2 separate regions of the Homo sapiens genome follow, and region 2 is linked to region 1. The links are contacts of gene promoters, found by promoter capture Hi-C in blood cells and fetal thymus (Javierre and others, 2016). All regions are on one chromosome and are shown on one strand. Each heading gives the region's core, a stretch centred on a gene start or on the middle of the fragment in contact. The rest is flanking DNA. Distances are from core to core; before and after follow the strand shown. Region 1 holds the start of WRAP73 (WD repeat containing, antisense to TP73). Region 2 holds the start of DDI2 (DDI proteasomal shuttling factor 2).

Evidence for each region. Contacts are between HindIII fragments. The CHiCAGO score rates a contact against its expected background, and 5 or more counts as called.
Region 2: a contact is called between a fragment that was not itself captured here and the fragment with the promoter of WRAP73 in region 1, in 1 of 17 cell types (neutrophils). The highest score is 5.5, in neutrophils.

Annotation. Positions count from the first base shown.
Region 1 is chr1:3,648,331-3,655,532 of GRCh38, forward strand. It overlaps WRAP73 (WD repeat containing, antisense to TP73), which reads right to left and starts at 1,773. Exons shown (of 12, transcript NM_017818.4): 1 at 1,601-1,773. The coding sequence starts at 1,669. TP73 (tumor protein p73) reads left to right here and starts at 4,186. Exons shown (of 14, transcript NM_005427.4): 1 at 4,186-4,311. RefSeq lists an enhancer at 1,994-2,837 and a silencer at 3,797-4,746. The HindIII fragment of the contact is 11,564 bases long and covers 882-7,202 here.
Region 2 is chr1:15,612,565-15,619,747 of GRCh38, forward strand. It overlaps DDI2 (DDI proteasomal shuttling factor 2), which reads left to right and starts at 4,894. Exons shown (of 10, transcript NM_032341.5): 1 at 4,894-5,244. The coding sequence starts at 5,107. It also overlaps the pseudogene CD24P1. RefSeq lists a silencer at 4,648-5,217. The HindIII fragment of the contact is 3,416 bases long and covers 1-3,276 here.

The sequences.
Region 1 (7,202 bases), core at 523-3,022:
TAACTGCTTCGTTAGTTTTACTTATCAAGGTCAAAGTAGTTTGTGTTTTATGAACCGATATCAAAAAAGAAAGCCACGTTAGTTTTCCGTGGGAGAAAAGAGAGACAGGCGGGTGACGGCAGATTGGAACAAGGAGCTACCACAGCACTTACTTTCTCACACTGTAGCTTTGAAAACTGTGATCAGTTACAGTGAATTCCTTATGAAATGGAATATTTTTACCAACACCTTGAGGAACCACATAAACTCTACTGCAAGATATGAAAACTAGAAACATGGACCTGCTCTCCCCAGTCCTCAGGGCTTTCAAGAAGATGATTCCAGTAACAGATCATTACCAAGTGTTTCAGGGTATTTTGACCAGAGTGTACAAGCTGGAAAAAAACACCCAAGTTAAGCAAGCAGATGTAATCTTTCTCCTTATAATTCACTGAAATTTTCATAAATGGTAAAAACAAAAAACAAACCTCTCATTTAATTGAGGAGGGGGGCACATTGAAAATATACCAAGGCTGAGATGCCATTTAAACTAATGAGGTTTTCTGTTTTGTAGCTGATGCTATTTTATGTGATTTGGAATAAAACCTCCCTGAAGAGGTAAAAAACGTAATTTGAGAGTTAAACTCTCAAAAGCTAGACAGAGCACAGGAATGTCAGGAGTGGCAAAACCTGAAAAAGCATCATGATACATCAGTCAGTTAGTACAGGTGGTGGATAAGGAAAACGAAGCCCACTTTTTACGAGGCATGTTTCTTCTTAGTGGCTTTCCAATGCCAATTGTCCCCCTCTTCTGAGGACATACATACTAGGCATCCGGGTTATCCCTCTCTTCTGAGGATATACACTACTAGGCATCCAGGTACATACACTATATGTTTTGAAGCTTAAAGTTATAGCTCTGTGATTTAAGCACCCTTCTGCCACCCATGGAACGAAGACCTCAAATCCCAGCCATGAGGACAACTACTTCCTTACCTGGGGATAGAATACTAGTATTTAAATCATTTATTCGGCATGTGGTAGAGGAGAAGAGAATTAGAGGAGAAGTAGAGATGACAAAGTAGCCACACCACTTACCAGTTTACAGGCAACAGAATCATCAATTTGCCTTTTGTGACAAAGTAACAACAAAGAGCCGACATCTCCTATACCCTCACCTGTGTGCAGTCGGCACTGCCGATACCCACCTTTCCAAGGGCACCTCCCCAGACCCCCCACCTGTCTACGGTATCTTCCTGGGTCCCGCACCTGCCCGGGCACCTGCCGGGGTCCTGCACCTGTCCGGCCCCCATATCTGCTTGGGGTACCTGCCTGGGCCCCGCACCTGCTTGGGGTACCTGCCTGGGCCCCGCACCTGCTTGGGGCACCTCCCCGGGCCCTCCACCTGTCTAGGGTATCTTCCTGGGTCCCGCACCTGTCTGGGGCACTTGCTCAGACACTGCACCTGCCCCGGGTACCTGCCCGGGCCCCGCACCTGTCCGGGCACCGCACCTGCAGGATCCCCAAGCTGCCTCCACCCACGCGGCCGCCCCCGGCCCTGCCCGCCGGGGACGCTGGCACCGAGGATGTCCTGCCCGTGGCCCAGGTCCCCGCCGCTCACCAGGTACTTGCCGTCCGGGGAGAACTTGCAGAGTAAGCTGGAGAGCTTGAATACCTCGGAGAAGTTCATGGCCGCCGCCTGCCGCGGGCGCCACCCTGCGCCCGAAAACCCGCGGGACCCCTGGGCGCGCAGCAGGCTGCAACAGCCGACGCCGGCCTCCGAGGCCGGAAGTCAGAAGGCGGAAGTGAACTGCAGCCTATCAGCGCCGCCGGCTTCCGCGCGGCATTGTGGGGCTTGTAGTTCTTGTGCCGCAGGGCTTTAAAGGAAACGCCCACGTTTCTTCCGACCAGGGATTTCCGACCCGAGAACCTTACCTCAAAGGCCGGGAGGCCTTTGAGCACCTCCAGCTAGGGCTGCTGATAAAAATGTAGAAAGCACAGTAAAATTTGAATTTCAGATTCACAACAAATCTAGTTATAAGTATGTTCCCAAATATTGCACGGGACATGCTAATACGGAAAAATTACTCGCTAGTCTGAAATTCAAATTTAATTGAGCGACCTGTGTGTCTGCGTGTGTGTACACATGCATATATATATATTTATATTTATATGTAAATGTATGTTTACATGTAAATATATGTTTACCTACAAATATATCTTTAATAAGTAATACGGTGTCTGTCGCACATATATTATATCGTGTATGTAATGTATAAGTATTTATTTCGTTTGCTTGGGGTTTTGTTTGCTTTTGCTGAGTCCGACCCCTCTACCTGCCGCCTGGCCCTTGCCTCACGCTCCAGTGCCACTGAGATCAAGGAGAGAACGAATTTGCCGCTGACTGGGCAGAGCGAGCGCGTGGATCGCGGCCACCGCCCGTTCATCACCCGCGCGCATCTGGGCTGGCACCGGGCGAAGAATCGTGCGGGTCTGGGACCTGGGGGCCCAGAGGGAGCGAGCTCCTGCGCGGGCGCTCGGTCCGCAGGTTTCGCAGGCTCAGGGGCGTGCCTCGTTCTCACCCCCACTCCGGACCCCGGTCCTCTTCCCTAGACAGCGGCCCCCTCCACCCCTGGCTCCCGCAGGCCGCTAGTAGTCCGCGCCAGGCCCCGCCGGCGCCTCTAGGGCCCCCCAGATCGCGCAGACCCTGACATCCCCGCCTGGCCCTGGGTTCTGGGAGCTGAGAGCCGGCCAGGGTCCTGCTCGTACCTCCGGGCGCCCAGCCTCGGGTCTGCTCCCCGCGGACGCCCCAACCTCCCCGGCCGAATGGATGGTGGTGCGCGCGCGTCCTACTCCGGCGGTGCCGGCCTTTTCTGTTGCCAAAACTAGACCCAAACCTCTGCATGGGATTCGTCTTTGGGTCCCCACCCCGTGCGCCCAGCAAACAGTGGGTGAGCCATGAAGATGTGCGAGTCAGCCGGACCCTCCCCGTCAGGCGCGGACCCGCTGCGGCCAGAGAACCCAGTCTGCGCCAGCCCGGCTCGCTCGCGAAGCCACGGGCTTCACTGACGCGACTTTCCAAGACGTGGGGGTCACCATGGGCAGAGGACATCGGTTCGGAGCCAGATCACGGGCCCCATAAGCATCAGACCATAAGCAGCGCCGCCACTGAGAGCCGCTCGGAACTCGCCCAGCATGTCGGGTCCCCTAGCCAGGGCCTGGTGTACGTGGTCGAGGGCCCTGGAAGCCCCGATGGCCTAGGAGGAGCAGGCGGGCGGGGCGGCGGGTGTCGCTGGCCGGTAGAGAGCTTCGGCCTGACCTAGCGCAGGTCTGGTGCGCGCAGAGAACAACTCCAAGCGCACCGACGCCCGCGAGCTCCTTCCAAACACCGAACGGGATCCAGAGCCCGAGCCCACAGGCGGCGGCCGGGGGAGGGAGCAGGGTGCTGGCCGCCGCCCGGGAGTGTTCGCGTCCTGGGTGACCCCTGGAAGGACGTGGGGCCCAAACTCCGGCTGGGGTTGGGAGAGCAGCCCCCAGAGGCTCTCCGCGGGATCCTCTGCCGGGCGGGACCGTGGCTCCACAGGAGAAGTGGGTGGCAAGCCCTGCTTGGCGGAAAGCAGCCGTTCCCCTCCTCCTGGGCCTGGGGCGGCGCCCCTCACCCCTGTTCCCCGCCCCTCACCCCTGTTCCCCGCCGGCCACATCCCCTGCCCCTTGGATTCCAAGCGCCCCGCGCGCCGAGGAGCCCAGCGCTAGTGGCGGCGGCCAGGAGAGACCCGGGTGTCAGGAAAGATGGGCCGTCTGGGGGACAGCAGGGAGTCCGGGGGAAACGCAGGCGTCGGGCACAGAGTCGGCACCGGCGTCCCCAGCTCTGCCGAAGATCGCGGTCGGGTCTGGCCCGCGGGAGGGGCCCTGGCGCCGGACCTGCTTCGGCCCTGCGTGGGCGGCCTCGCCGGGCTCTGCAGGAGCGACGCGCGCCAAAAGGCGGCGGGAAGGAGGCGGGGCAGAGCGCGCCCGGGACCCCGACTTGGACGCGGCCAGCTGGAGAGGCGGAGCGCCGGGAGGAGACCTTGGCCCCGCCGCGACTCGGTGGCCCGCGCTGCCTTCCCGCGCGCCGGGCTAAAAAGGCGCTAACGCCCGCGGCCGCCTACTCCCCGCGGCGCCTCCCCTCCCCGCGCCCATATAACCCGCCTAGGGGCCGGGCAGCCCGCCCTGCCTCCCCGCCCGCGCACCCGCCCGGAGGCTCGCGCGCCCGCGAAGGGGACGCAGCGAAACCGGGGCCCGCGCCAGGCCAGCCGGGACGGACGCCGATGCCCGGGGCTGCGACGGCTGCAGGTAGGAGGCCCAGGGCCGGGGGGCGGTTCGGCTCCGCGGGCGGGGGCTGGAGCGCAGCGCTGGGCAGGCACCTGGGCTCGCAGCTCCGAAGCTGGGAGGTGAGGGGAGAGCGATCGGGGACGAGCTGGGACAAGGCGACACAGGGGCTCCCTCGGAGTTGGATCGGCCCCTGGGACTTGGCGCTCGCGAGAGGCTGGAGCGGCCAGAGTCTAGCCTGCGAGGAGACGCGGGTCCTGCCCTCAGCGCCGGCCGCCTTTGGCGCCAAAGACAGCCCCGCAGGGGTTCCGGGAGGGCCCTCCTCCTGCTGTCCCCTCTCCACCCCGGGCTCCGAGGGCCGTTGGGAGGGTAACCCCGGGAAGAGGCCGGGGTGCGGGGCGCGGGTGCAGGTGGAAATCGCCAGCAAGCTCCTCCCCGCCCGCGCGCTCCCTCCGACCTGCAGGGCTGTGCCAATCCCGAGGCCTCAGCTTCCCTGAGGAGCCAGGGCCAGGCCCCCCTCTGGACAGGGAGAAGGATCTGGGCGGGGGCCTTGACCCATGGAGTTGGTTACTAAGCGGTTTCGATGGTTTCCCGAGGGACAGCTCCCTGTGGCTCTGAGTTTGTCTGTCGAGGGCTCCTGGCCTGTCTCCGGAGCGGTCCCAGGTAGAGAAAGCCCGTGAAGAAATGGCCCGGGCCGGCCTGGAGGGAGACACCTCACGCCCCCTTAGCTCCTGGGCCGCCTCCTCCTGCAGCCCCTGCCTTTCCCGGGGCTTGGACTTGGGGAGCGATGATTACCTTTGCTCAGCTTGTATTTTGGCCTGGACGCTAGGAGATAAGCCCATGTAGTATGCACACGTCTGCTACATAAACAGGGGACAGATAGACGATCTTCAACCAGCAAGGGTGCAGGGAAAAGCAATGCACCCCAAACTTCTGACCAGAGGTCATTTGCTTCCAAAGATGCTGCCATCTGTTTATTCACTGTCTGGACATTTGGAAATGGCTCAGGCTCATTAACACAATGCTTTGGTTTTTGTTGTTTTGTTTTTTGTTGCTGTCATTGCTGTTTATTTGTTCAGCCTTAGCTCTGGGGGAGGAGTAAACAAAGCGCGTGGCCTCTGGCACTTACTGAGCGCTGAGCCACCCCTCTTTGGATTTATTCGGGGAAAGATTAAAAAGCATTTCATTAAGAACAGGACACGGTGTTTGAAATGTTGCCATATATGAATGTATGCATTACGTATGTAGTTTTTAAAATAAGATAAAAAGTTGGCTGGGCACGGTAGCTCACGCCTGTCATCCCTCACAGCCTTTGGGAGGCCAAGGTGGGTGGATCACCTGAGGTCAGGAGTTCGAGACCAGCCTGGCCATCATGGTGAAACCCAGTCTCTACTTGAAATACAAAAATTAGCTGGGCATGGTGGCAGGCACCTGTACTCCCAGCTACTCGGGAGGCTGAGGCACAAGAATTGCTTGAACCTGGGATGGAGAGGTTGCAGCGAGCTGATATCATGCCACTGCACTCCAGCCTGGGCAACAGAGCAAGACTCTGTCTCAAAAAATAAGATGAAATAAGATAAAAGTTGGTGTCAGAGGCTGCAGTGTGGCAGCTGCCTATTGTCAATCAGAGGTAGCCTGGGGTGAACGGAAGGCGGACCTGAGCGGGGCTTGTCTATGCGCGGCGGCCACCAGAGAATGGCTCGGGATGTGAGCCCTGCCTTGCAGTCCTTCTCGTGAAAGCTACAGCGAACAGTAGCTGTCTCCAAATCCCGAAGGCCAGTCGCATGGAGAAGCTGGTCTGGCACAGTGGTTAATGGGGTAGTATGGAAGTCAGAATGCTGGGGTTCAAATCTCCTCTTCCCCATTTACTCCAGCAAGTCACTTAACCACTTGGAGCCTCAGGTTACCCATCTGCAGAGTCGGGTAATAGTAGTTCCTGCCTCAGAGGCTTGGAGAACAGTCAGTGAGGTGCCGTCCGAAGGGCTTGGGAGAGTGCCTGGCACCCACTCAGTGTCCTCACACATGATGGCTTCGGGTCCCAGGTGCTGTTCCAGAGCTGGGAGAGCCAGGAGCCCTGGGGAGAGACCCGGCTCCTTAGTATCTGGTAGGTATCTCCAGGGCAGGAGGGATGGCAGTGAGGCAGGCATCTGCCCAAGGCGTGGGTGGAAGCTGATGGCATCTGTCAGAAGTATGCACTGGGGCAAGGATGCCTGGTTTAGTATTTATTTATAGGGCATGCCCCACCCAGGTCCAAGAATGGATTGATAACACTGAGCACGTGTGAAAGGCACGGCTAAAGTGGAGAGAAGAGAAGAGGCTGAGGGCCGAGAGAGGAGCCGCACACCCACTCCAGAACCCGGACGAGGCCCTGCCCTTGCCCAGCGGCGGTATTAACCCTGAGATTCCGAGCACACCAAAGTGACATCGCGTACACGGTGAACCCTGTGTTTGCAAAAAGTCAGAAAAAGTCTTCAAAACATCCTTTAAGGCCAGGCGCCGTGGCCCACGCCTGTAATCTCAGCCCTTTGGGAGGCCGAGGTGGGTGGATCACTTGAGATCAGGAGTTCAAGACCAGCCTGGGCAAAATGGTGAAATCTTGTCCCCACCAAAAATACAAAAATTAGCCGGGGGTGGTGTCTGGTGCCTGTAGTCTCAGCTACTCAGGAGGCTGAGGCAGGAGAATCGCTTGAACTTGGGAGGCAGAGGTTGCAGTGAGCCGAGATCACCCCACTGCACTCCAGCCCGGGCAACAGAGCGAGACTCTGTCTCAAAAAAACACGCAAAAAATACTTTTGGTGTGTGTTTCATGTAACGAGCTGCCATTTTGCGGCTTGCCTTTGTTTTCCAGTGTGGGGAGGGCTAAGGCAACCTTTTAAGATATCTGTATGTTATTTCCTCGTGATTTTGCTTTAAAA
Region 2 (7,183 bases), core at 319-2,818, about 12 Mb after region 1:
GTGACACCATGCCCACCTCTTTTTTTAAATTTGTGGGCCAGACACGGTGGCTCACACCTGTAATCCCAGCACTTTGGGAGGACGAGAGAGCTGGATCGCCTGAGGTCAGGAGTTTGAGACCAGCCTGGCCAACATGGTGAAACCCCATCTCTACTAAAAATACAAATATTAGCTGGGCATGGTGGCATGCTCCTGTAGTCCCAGCTACTCAGGAGGCTAAAGAAGGAGAATGGCTTGAACCCGGGAGGTGGAGATTGCAGTGAGCTGGGATCGTGCCATGGCACTCCAGCCTGGGGGACAAGAGTGAAACGCTGCCTCAAAAAAAAAAAAGGAGATTATGGCCAGGTGCAGTGGCTCATGCCCGTAATCCCAGCACTTTGGGGGGCCCAGTGGGTAGATCACCTGAGGTCAGGAGTTTGCGACCCGCCTGGCCTACATGGTGAAACCCTGTCTCCACTAAAAATACAAAAATTAGCCAGGTATGGTGGTGGGTGCCTGTAATCCCAGCTACTCAGGAGGCTGAGGCACAAGAATCACTTGAACCTGCGAGGCAGAGGTTGCAGTGAGCTGAGATCGCACCACTGCACTCCAGCCTGGATGGCAGAGCGAGACTGTGTCTCAGAAAGGAAAAACAAAAAATAAAAATTAGCGGGGCATGGTGGTGCAGGCCTGTAATCCCAGCAACTTGGGAGGCTCAGGCAGGAGAATCACGAGCCAGGGAAGTGGAGGTTGCAGTGAGCTGAGCTCGCACCACTGCACTCCAGCCTGGGCAACAGAACAAGACTCCATCTCAATAAATAAATAAATTAATTAAATTAAAATAAATTTTTTTTTGTAGAGATGGGGTCTCACCCTGTTGCCCAGGGTGATTTCAAACTCCTGGGCTCAATCGATCCTCCTGCTGTGGCCTCCCAAAGTGCTAGGATTACAGGTATGAGCCACCCCCACCCCTGCCAATGGAAATCTTTTATTTTACTGGTTTTACTGCCGTATAGACTTAATGAACCAAATGAAAACTGAATCTCCACTCCATATTACATCTTTATTTCTAAACAAGATAAAATCTATTATTTATTATTATTTTTTTTTTATTACCCAAGTTTTGTCTCAGGATCTACTATTCTTATTTTCAAGGTAGTTTTAACTGTCCACATTTCTTAAGCCACATTCAAGAAATAATGTCTTCAATTTTGGATGTTGCCTCTCTTCATCTTGTACATGACATTTAAGCAGATTTAATATTGGCATCCATCATCTAGTCAAACCCTTCACGTGTTCTTCAAAGCAATTAAATTTGGGGTTCTCAACCTTTTCTTTCTTTCTTTCCTTTTTTTTTTTTTTTGAGATGGAGTCTCACTCTGTCGCCCAGGCTGGAGTGCAATGGCGCGATCTCGGCTCACTGCACCCTCTGCCTCCCATGTTCAAGCCATTCTCCTGCCTCAGCCTCCTGAGTAGCTGGGATTACAGGCACACACCACCACGTCTGGCTAATTTTTATATTTTTAGTAGAGACGGGGTTTCACCATGTTGGTCAGGCTGGTCTTGAACTCCTGACCTTGTGATCCACCTGCCACCTGCCTCGGCCTCCCAAAGTGCTGGGATTACAGATGTGAGCTACCGCGCCTGGCCTTTTTTTTTTTTTTTTTTTTTTTTGAGACAGAGTTTTGCTCTTGTTGCCCAGGCTGGAGTGCAATGGCGCAATCTCGGCTCACTGCAACCTCTGCCTCCCAGGTTCAACCAATTCTCCTGCCTCAGCCTCCCAAGTAGCTGGGATTACAGGCATCCACCACCATATCTGGGTAATTTTTCTGTACTTTTAGTAGAGACGGGGTTTCACCATGTTGGCCAGGCTGGTCTCAAACTCCTGACCTCAGGTGATCCACCTGCCTCGACCTCTCAATGTGTTGGGATTACAGGCATGAGCCACCACACCTGGCCAGGTTCTCAACCTTTTCTGTATCAGTAAAAGAAGGTGTGAAATTAATAGATTTGATGAAGACCCGCTTTTTTTCTTGCCACATTGGACTCCTAGATGCCATTTGGAATGGGTTTAGAAGACACGGAAGTATAGATGTTTCTTAACAGTAGAAATATAGAAGAGAAAGCAAGACCATGAGGAGACTGGCAGTTGACTGCAGGGCACAGCCAACTGCCTTGGTGGTGGCATTAGCTGGGTTTGGGGCAGACAAGGTACCCTGGGAGGAGTTACTTGAAAACGTTACAATAGTTTGATTTGAATAAATCTGCATAAGTAGGAGCAGTGCCAGAAGCAGCAGCCCCAGCCTGAGCCTGTCCACCATTGCTTTGTCCCCTCCATTGGTGTCTGGCATATATTGCTGGATGCTGGGTGAGAACTGCTGGCTCCAGGTGGACACAGGCGAGACCTAGCCTTAAAAATCACACAAAGTGGCTGGGTGCGATGGCTCACATCTGTAATCCCAGTACTTCGTGAGGCCAAGGTGGGAGGATCACTTGAGGCCAGGATTTGGAGATTAGCCTGGTCAACATAGCAAGGACTCATCCCTATTTTTTTTAACTAAAAATAATGTAAAATCATAATAAAAAGGAAATCAAGCCTGGGCAACATAGCAAGATCTCATCTCTACTAAAAAGAAATTAGCTGCGTGTGGTGGTGCACACCTGTAGTTCCAGCTGCTGGGGAGGTTGAGCTGGAGGGATCACTTGAGCCCTGGAGGTTGAGGCTGCAGTGAGCCATGATCGTGCCACTGCACTCCAGCCTGGGTGACAGAGCCAGACCCTGTCTTGATAAAAAAAAAAAAAAAAAAGGAAATCACATAATGTCACTTATGCCAGAGTTAGTCTGCCGAGCCATGATTCAAAGGGAGGGACATTCACCCCACTTCTTAATGGGAGGGTTATCCAATCATGTTGTAGGAAGAGCATAGACGATGGGAGGCACTGTCATGGTCATCTTTGGAGAACAAAATCTGCCAGACCTGGGAACCTGAGCACCACTAGACCAAATATAACAATTAATCAATGATTCAAGCCTCAACTGATTCCTTGATACCACCACTGGGCAATCCTAGAACATTTCTCAGCTAAACTTGCTTCAATTTGCAATGGTTATTTCAAACATTCACTGTAGAAGGCACTGTGTACATCTTTCCTAATACCCATTCCCAGCCCCCCTTTTCCCTATTTATGTCCTTTAGGCAAAGCTAAATACTTGCGTTCCTAGCCTCTCTTGCATCTATGTGACACAATTCTGTCCAGTGAGATGTAAGCAAAAATGTGCACAGGGACTTCTGGGCAAGCTTTTTCCTTGAATAGGAAAATGATGCGTGCAGTGGAGGCAGCCAGCCATATATTGCAACCCTCAGGAAAAGGTCAAGACAATTACAAAAGTATTGGCCCTGATTTCAGTGAGCCACTCAACCAGTGCTGTTGCTACCTCCAGGCCTTCTCTCCTGTGAGAAAACAAACCCTTGTTTGTTTAAGCCACTGATAGTCAAGCTTTCTGTTGCTCCTAGGGGATATAAGCATTCTCACTCCCCTGTGCCTCTACTTTCTCTTTTTTTTTTTTTTTTTTGAGACAGAGTCTCGCTCTGTCTCCCAGGCTAGAGTGCAGTGACCTGATCTCGGCTCACTACAACCTCCGCCTCCCGCGTTCAAGTGACCCTCCTGCCTCAGCCTCCCGAGTAGCTGGGACTATAGGTGTCCGCCACCATGCCCGGCTAATTTTTGTATTTTTAGTAGAGACGGGGTTTCACCATATTGGCCAAGCTGGTCTCGAACTCCTGACCTTGTGATCCGCCCGCCTTGGCCTCCCAAAGTGCTGGGATTACAGGCGTGAGCCACCGCGCCCAGCTCCTCTAATTTCTCTTTGTAAAAGCCTTCAGCTGCTAATTCTCCCTTTCCTGCCACCAACAGCCTACTTACTACCTACTTACCTGCACCCACAGCCATCTTATTTGCTCCTTCTCTCCTGTTAAAATGGAAAAGGGCTCCCTACCATGGAGGGGGAGTGGGAGTAAATGGAAAGATGCTAATCTGGCATCCATTACAAGTTCATCTTTCAGTTTTGGTTTTCTTACTCATCCGCACCTTAGTTCTGGGCCTCTACCACTCATCAGCTGTGTGCCTTAAAAACAGGCCATTAAAGTAGCAAATATTTATTGAGTAGATTCTAAGCTGTGCCCAAAAAGGCACTGCGCTAGGTGGTAGGAGTTGCTAGGGCTAGGAAACAGACACAGTCCAAGTAGAGAGAAAATTATTTACAAGACAGGGGAATGGAGCCTTGGAGGAACTGACCTATGTGGCTGGGAGGGCAGAGAATGTGGGAAGAGCTCGGAAGAAGGGGCTGGGGAGGTAGGCGTGGGCCACAGCCAACTGGCTTCTGTAGACTAGGGAGGGTAATGATTTTGGTTTCAATCCTAAATCACTAAGACAGGAAGTGAATTACTCTGTCGGAGCCTCAATTTCTACCTCGAAAAATATGTTTTATTACTAACTCCTGTACTAGATTGAGAGTTACGGAGAAGGATTTATCCTTTTATTCATTTCTGCATCGCCAGCGCCCGACACATGGTAGGCGCTTAATCAATGCCTGTTCGGTGAATAAATAAGACCGGGGACTCCTCCACAGACTTCTGTCATTAAGTCAACCAGTCAGCAGAGATTTCCTTCTCCGCGTTCCTTTCCTTCCCTCCCCTTTTCTTGCCCTTCCTCCCTCTCCTCTTCCACGCCCCCTTCCCACTCCTCCCCCTCCTATCCTCTCCTGGCTTCCTCCTCCTCTTCCCGGCCCCGCCCCCCGCTGCGTTGCGAAGGCGGGGAAGGCGAGGCGGGCTTTACGGCAGCCGCGTTGCGGCGGGGCGGGGCGCCGGGCGGCCGGCGCGCTTGGCGGCAGCCGTGGGAGGCAGGCCGGCAGGCAGACGGACTCGCAGGCGTGTGGCGGCGGCCGTGCTTGCTAGTGAGGGCGGGAGGGAGTGACTCACTGAGCGTGTGTGAGGGAGGGAGCGAGCGAGCGAACGAGCAGCCGGCGCCGTCCTCCCGCAGCACCAGCCAGGCCACGCCGCCGCCTCTTCCCCTGCGCCCCGCGCCCAGGCCGGGCCGAGCCGAGCCGAGCCGGGTCGGGCCCGGGCCATGCTGCTCACCGTGTACTGTGTGCGGAGGGACCTCTCCGAGGTGACCTTTTCCCTCCAGGTCGACGCCGACTTCGAGCTGCACAACTTCCGCGCGCTGTGCGAGCTCGAGTCTGGCATCCCCGCAGCCGAGAGCCAGGTACGCCGGGCAGCGAGCCGGGCCTGCCCCGGAGCTAAGCCCTCCCCGCCTCGGGGCCTCACTCCCTCCCTTTGCTACTGGTGAAGAATTGGGGGCTGGGGGGAGCAAGGATAGCCATTCTCAGGTCACCCCCGCATCCGGAAAGGAGCTGGGGAGCTGGCATCAGTAGCTGCCCTCACACACTCCGAGCATGGGGTGGGGTACGAGGAGAGGGAGCGGAGAACCTGACCGCAGACGCACCCACTGCAGCGTGAGGGGCGCGTGGACTGTTGAGCAGCGCTAACCCTCCCCACCTTTGGCTCTTTGGCCCTTCCCTGTTTCTAATCCCGAGTGTAGGATATCGTTGTGGACCTCAGAAGCAGCCCTGGGTTTGCTAGGATTCATACATCCTGCAAACCAGAAATACCAGTTTGGATCACTGTGGTAGATAGATGTTCCTCTGCTTTTTTTTTTTTTTTTTTCTGGAGAGGGTTTCTGCTTAAATATACGCAGTTTACCTTTAAATGCACAGATTTGCACTTCCGGTGAAAGAAAAAGTTTAAGACTTGCACTACCTCATTTTGGGGTCTTTGGAAATGCTCTTTACCCACCACATGCGTTTCTGGTTAAATTCTTTTGAAAAACAGTACCTATTGGTTCAACTCAAGCTGTTTGTTTGTTTCGGTTCTACCCTGGTAGTAAGCCAGAAGGCCCTTTTTCTTTCAGGTCACAGTTCAGAGTTTGGGTCAGTTCAAAGCTCAATGCTTTAAAAGGATATTTGCTTGGAAACGGCCTAGTATCAGTGCTGTTTGGTGGTTTCATTTCCCTACTCAGCTTGCTGGAAAGAAGTTCAGCCTCTCATATTTTAACTAAGCAAAGTAATTCTCAAAATGCTTTGGGGCTGCCCCTAGTCTTTATCAAACAGAATCGGTGACACTAACGCTGTAAACTTTACACTAAAACACTTAGATCATGACTTAATAAATTTAGCCTGGAGGAAATAGTCTAAACATTAAGAAAATTATAGAGGTCTCCCAAGTCTCCATCAAGTAAATCTTGATTTTCTACTGCAGTTATGAAATAGTTTACAAAACGATTGCCCAACTGCAGCTTGTTCTGCTGTCTTATGGTAAACACGTGTCAATACTTTGTTCAGAAGTATGATTCCTTTACACAATGTGAACTTTAGAACCTTGGCATAAAGCTGTTCAGAAAGAATTTAAAAAGTTAATCCACAAAAGCTCAGGAACCAGTTCTGTCAGTGAATGCCTCATGTGGAGAACTAGGAAAGGACTGTTTAAATAGAGAAAATAAACTCTTCAATTTTTTTTCTTTTTTTGTTTTTGTTTTTGAGACGGAGTCTTGCTCTGTCGCCCATGCTGGAGTGCAGTGGTGCGTTCTCGACTCACTGCAACCCCAGTCTCCCGGGTTCAAGCGATTCTCCTGCCTCAGCCTCCTGAGTAACTGGGACTACGGGCGCGCGCCACCACGCCTGGCTAATTTTTGTAATTTTTTTTTAGTAGAGACGGGGTTTCACCATGTTGACCAGGCTGATTTCAAACTCCTGACCTCTAGTGATCTGCCCGCCTCGGCCTCCCAAAATGCTGCGATTACAGGTGTGAGCCACCGTTCCCGGACAACTCTTCAATTTTTGATAGTGGCTTTTTCTTTTCTTTTCTTTTCTTTTTTTTTTTTCGAGACGGAGTCTCTGTCGCCTAGGCTGGAGTGCAGTGGCGCGATCTCGGCTTACTGCAAGCTCCACCTCCCGGGTTCGTGCCATTCTCCTGCCTCAGCCTCCCGAGTAGCTGGGACTACAGGCGCCCACCACCGCGCCCGACTCATTTTTTGTATTTTTAGTAGAGAAGGGGTTTCACCATGTTAGCCAGGATGGTCTCGATCTCCTGACCTCGTGGTCTGCCCGCCTCGGCCTTCCAAAGTGCTGTGAGCCACCGCACCCGGC